Linked DNA regions of Homo sapiens: region 1 is linked to region 2. Evidence: promoter capture Hi-C in 16 types of primary human blood cells and fetal thymus (Javierre and others, 2016). All regions are on one chromosome and are shown on one strand. The core of a region is centred on a gene start or on the middle of the fragment in contact, and the rest is flanking DNA. Distances in the headings are between cores, read along the strand shown. Region 1 overlaps UTP25 (UTP25 small subunit processome component). Region 2 holds the start of SERTAD4 (SERTA domain containing 4).

Region 1 (2,700 bases), core at 100-2,599, 390 kb after region 2:
CTGCACCTCCCCTTCAGAGAGGAGGCTTGAAACCTGGCACCACTTTACCTTTTGTAGAAATGGAAGCGCTCTGTGAAAAGTAGAAACTGTTTCTCTCCTTGAAGGAAGAAGTGTCTGGCCCTGGAGACACCAGACTTCTGCGTGTACTCGCAGATGTGGGTAAAATTCAATTCCTCCTTCTTGAAGTAATTTCGAAGACGCACGAAGTCAAAGTAGGAGGGGATATAGATGAGCGTGTGAGACATGACTGCATCACGATACTGTGGCAAAATCTTGTTCACAAAAAAGTTAAACCTGATTTGGAATGGCAAAGGGCAAAATTAATGTCTAGAGCTAAGCTTATGGTGTCTCTTAACTGTGTGACCCTGAGCAAATTACAATCTCGTGTTAAAAGATTACCTCCCCAGAGGCCAATATGATTTACCTCCTCTCAAAGAGATTATGTAAGGATAAAACTTGATAAGCACACTAAAAAAATAAGTGTCAACACTATTCATTGTAAAAAACAGATGTAATACCATTATATCCCAGAGAATTACTCTAGGAAGTACACACCACACTATTCAGTCAGTCAGTCAGTCACTCAGTCACTCAGTCCAACAGTCAACAAATAATCACTGAACATCTACCATATACTAAGCCTCACTAAGCTTCTTTGGGGTCCCCTAACTAAACACAATGAAGAAAAAGGGGGAAATTATACAATTAGAAAAATAGTTCTTTCCCTGAGGGGCTTACAATTAACTTGCTGACATGAGACACTTTGTAGCATAAAGCTGTATAATTTTAAAATGCCACAGTCAAGAGTGAAAGAGTCCTGATTTATAGTAATAACCCTGCTACTAACTAGTTATGAGACCTAGGCCAAAGTCACTATTTCTCTCTGTGCTTCAGTTTCCTCCTCTGACAAATGACATAATTAAGTTCAATTATCTCAACTGATTTGGTAGTTATCAATAAAAGCAAAATGGAATCCAATTCTAGGTTTGTATGCCCAAGTCAAATCTCTCTATGTGGTCCCCAGGGGCCTGCTGGGAGGAGTGGGTTACCTGGCATCAATCACTGAAGCTAGGTTTTCAGCTTCCATCCTCTGGAAGACATGTGGGAGCTGCACCAGGACATGACTGATAGAGCCTGTCATTGGGACATTCCTCACGGCCACCTGCCAGTAGTCAACAAGAGCGTTAGGTGGACAGCCATCCCCTTCTTGACCAGAAGCTATCGCCTCCTTCTACCTCAGGACCCAAACAATAAACAGTGCTCATGAAGATACTGAGGAAACAAGACGAGAACCCACCTGGCCTTGCATGTTGACACAGTACTTGTTGAACACTGAGTTGATCTGGGCATCCTGAAGGGCCCCAAATAGCAGTGTCTGGCGATAGTACTTGGACCAATTATTGAGGCTCCACATCCGCACTCGAGAAAAGTCTACCCCATGTGAGTCCAGGGGTAGTAGGTTCATGTGATTCATCAAATGCTTTGAGTGGAAATAATATTACCATTAGTGTTGACTGAGAGCATTTACATGTTGGACATTGCTAAACATTTTCCGAGTCTATCAACTCATGTACTATCATCTCCTAAATTATAACAAGAAAACTGAGGCTCACATGGGTGAGTGACTTGCCCATGGTCAGCCAAACATCCCCAATGAGGAGATAAGCTAAAACTGGCCCTCCTGGAATTTTAACAAATGATCAAAATGGTACCTACAGGAATGTTCCTTTAAAATGAACTTCTGAAATGCCACACTGGTCTCTCTATGGGTCCCTAAGTCCCAGACTTGGACAAGAAGGGAAATGCCATGGAAAACAGAGCTGCTGTCCCTCAATTACCTGGTTCTCAAAACATTAGGAATAGTTGCAGTGTCACCCTGTCTTTTCCTCAAATCTAAGAATATAACTCGACTATGCCAAATGCCTTTTCCATTTTAATTATATTTTTACCTTGTAATAGATATTGAAGGGTAATGAGTACAATAAATTTATTTCCTACTTTAGAAGTAAGTTCTACCCTTCATTTGTCCCAAACTTCCTGCAAGCTTCAAGACATGGGGTTGTAGAAGGGGTGAGTTCCCATATGCCTTAGAAAAATAAACCTATAGTTCCTAAATAAGGATTGTTCCAAAGCAGTTTTTCAGTCCTAAAACTGATAACACTGCAGAGTGTGTGGAGAAGGAGAAAAAAATTACAGTACAAATTACATCGGGTAATAAAGACATCCTATATTTCTCTACAAAACAAGATCCCACCTTAAAAAATCTTGAGCAGGGTATTCCCATCTTCACCAAAGACCAAACAAAACAGCATAAGCAAAAACCACATGTGGGATTATGTTAGGTAAAGATGTTCCTGGTGAGGACCCATCCATCCATCAACCTATCCCATCCACCCATCCACCCACCCTAAAGTTAGTAGAAAGAAATTTTAAGGGAAAGAAATCTTTTCTGGAGATTTGAAAATGACTGACAGGAATTTTAATCTGTAGACAGTTTAATTATGGACAATCTCTGGGTAGAAAAGGGGACAAAAGACTTTTTCAAATTAGAAAATGTGGAGTGTGTGTCCTTGCTTCCAAACAAGAGTTCTAATCTGGACTTAAATAATTCTTTAGGACTTAAACCACTGGGTGTCTTATCCCTCTAAATATGAATACTGTCCCACTGAATGTGAATGGCCAGCATTACCAGGACATGCT
Region 2 (2,705 bases), core at 132-2,631:
CCTCAGCCCCTCCCCGGGTAGCCAGCAGCGCCCGGTCGGCCGCTGGCCGCAGGAGAAAGTAAACAACACCCCAAGTGTCCGGGAACAAAGGCAAGTTGTCTTTCTACGGTGCCGCAGCCGTGTGCCTCTTCTGAAGAATAAGAGCTATTATTATTCTTTATGTCTTATCCTTTTTTTTTTTTAAAAAAAAAACCAAGTTTCCTTCTAAGGGAAATAAACACCAAAGGTAGGATTCCAAGGAAATGACTCACAGCGGCTGGCAGGGCTCTGGCGGGGCTGGCCCGGGCCCCCGCGCTCCAGCCCGCAGCAGATGTCGGCCCGGCCTTCCCTCCCTCCCTTGCCGGCCAAACCCGCTGGAAGCCCGCGGTTGCGGGAGCGCCCTGCGCCCGTGGGACCTGGCGGCGAGGACGCCTATTCCCTGCTTCTGCGACCACAGCTGGGCACTCGGAAAGTTGCTAGGGCCGAAGAGGCGGGAGGGGAGGAAGGGAAGCGAGAGGCGGAGGCGTGGACCAGGCGGGCAGCAGCCTCAGCCCGCCGAGGAGGTGAGCTGAGGACAGAGGAGCCGCCGCCGCCCGCAGCGCAGCTCTGCTGCCTGGGAGGAGGGTGCGGGGGCGGAGGTGGCGGGGGACAGAAGGTGTCAGCTACTGCATCAATTCCTTTTTCTTGCAAACGCGCGCTCCTGACATCCACAATCCCTCTCTCCCCACCTGCCAAGCGCCGCGGCATCCGGACCTGGGGGCACCCCTCCTACTTAACCCCTTCCCCTACGATGAGGGACTAAGCGGCCACGGAGGACCATGAGGTCTCACCAGAGCTTCTGACCCCACCCGCCCCTGGAGTTGTCTCGGTGCGCGCGGGTGGCAGCCCGAGCAGCCCTAGAGGAGGCGGCGGTTCCCGCCCTGGTGAAGGCGCCGCGGCGCACGCTAGCCCAGGGAAAAGCCCGCGCCGCCTCCGCGCCCAGCTGTGCCTTGGCCCCCACGCCGCCCCGACTCCGCTCCGGCCGCTGCGAGTCCACTCGGTGACCTCGGCACAGCCCTGGTGCCAAGAGGGCGCGCGGGAGGCCGCGTGGGTGCCCGTCTGCGAGGGCAGGAGCCCCGGGGGGCCCTCGCCCTCCACCCTGCCCGGCCCTCCCGCCCCCGCGGCCCGCGCCCAGCCCGGCTCTTACCGCGGGGTCAGCGGGGAGGCGGCGGCCGCAGCGCTTGAGCTGCTGCTGGTCCGCTCTGGGCTCGGCGCCAGCCCGGCCGCCGGTGCACACTCGCGGGTCCCGGCCCGGCCGCCCGCTCGGCGGTGACTGCGGGTGCGCGGCGGGCAAGGGTCCCGGCAGGTCCCGCCGCCGCGACTGGGGCGCTGCGCCGCCGTCGCTGCAGACGGTTATGGTAATGAGCGGCTCTGTCTAGCGAGGAGCGTGTGAAACCCGTCAATCCTGTTTGCCATTTCCCCGTGGATTTCCGAGGAGAGGTTCTGCAGGATGCCCCCAGGGTGAGAGAGGGAACATGACAAGCGCGCCCGCTCTCCCTCCCTCCCTCTGCTCAGGCCGCCGCCGCCGCTCCTCAGGCTGCACACGGGGCGCCTTTCCCGCACCCCCACCCCAGCCCGCCCCCTGCCTCCTTCCCTGCTTCCCGCCCTCCCTCCTCCTTTTCCTCCCCTCCCCTCCCGGTGCCCGGGGACACGCGGGCCCAGCTCCAGCCCGCAGCCCAGACCCCACGCGCTCTCGGGCTCCCGCCCTAGCCCTGGGGGCTTGGCTCCAGCCGAATAATGTATTCACTCTGGAACCTTCCGAGATATCTTGTCTTTTTAAATTTGGTTTAGTTTTGTTGTTGTTGTGTGTGCGTGTGATTAAAAAAAAAATCTGTGCCTTTCCCACCCTTTGCAAAAGACTTTCTTCTCCTTTGCCACAGCAAACGGAGATGAGAAACAGATGTCTTTGCAGGACCAAACAGTTATTCTCCCTCGCCGCCCGCCCCCGCCCGTTTCCCTCCTGAGCTGCGTACGTATTAAAAAAAAAAAAAAAAGCAACCTTGGTCCTGCTGCAACTTGAATTGGCAACCCTTTCTGGGTGGGGAGCCTCCAGGGAAAACCTCCAGGAAATAAAAAGTAATACAAGAGATTGTCCTTGCTCAAGAGAATGTAATTTAAGCCTTGGAATCAGAATATTTTGCAAATAGTAATTTTCTCCTATAGTGGCCTCAGAGTTTATTTTTTAAAATCATTAATTCATAACTTCTGTCTAGGGACCCCTCCATAGTCGAGATGGGTCATTTCAGGTGTAATGAAGGCAGAGGCTTGGAAGGCATAGACCTAATAAAATCGGGAGAAGGCACCTGCACAAAAGTGTTACAAAGACTATAATGTTTGTTTACTGCCACTATACCAGATGTGCTAAATATAACACTTCTTTAAAACAGTGATCCTCCGACTGTGAAAAACCAGACCTCTGGCTGCCTGGCTCCCTAGGAATCAAGAAGACGCACAGACTGAAAATCAAGGGAGGAAGGAACAAGATCAAGGATGAGGATTAGCATCTGCAAATTGAACTCTATCTAATTTGCATGTTTATTTCTTAGAATTGTAATTAAATTTGTGTAATAAATGTTTTCCATTTCATTTGTACACTTAAAACTTGGGTGACTGACATGCAGTTAAGTGAATTTCCTTTTTTTAAAAGCAAATGTAGATTATTCAATAAAGCAGCAAACCAATATTAA

What was found. Contacts are between HindIII fragments. The CHiCAGO score rates a contact against its expected background, and 5 or more counts as called.
Region 1: a fragment that was not itself captured here is called in contact with the fragment with the promoter of SERTAD4 in region 2 in 1 of 17 cell types (endothelial precursors); the score reaches 5.3 in endothelial precursors.

The regions. Positions count from the first base shown.
Region 1 is chr1:209,841,045-209,843,744 of GRCh38, reverse strand. UTP25 (UTP25 small subunit processome component) reads right to left here. Exons shown (of 12, transcript NM_014388.7): 8 at 2,690-2,700; 9 at 1,298-1,480; 10 at 1,050-1,162; 11 at 49-294. Among named protein-coding and RNA genes, the nearest start is that of UTP25, 14 kb to the right of the region's middle. The HindIII fragment of the contact is 1,394 bases long and covers 653-2,046 here.
Region 2 is chr1:210,231,472-210,234,176 of GRCh38, reverse strand. It overlaps SERTAD4 (SERTA domain containing 4), which reads right to left and starts at 1,381. Exons shown (of 4, transcript NM_019605.5): 1 at 1,166-1,381. SERTAD4-AS1 (SERTAD4 antisense RNA 1) reads left to right here and starts at 292. Exons shown (of 2, transcript NR_024337.2): 1 at 292-542; 2 at 2,406-2,705. RefSeq lists an enhancer at 970-1,503. The HindIII fragment of the contact is 4,360 bases long and covers 1-2,705 here.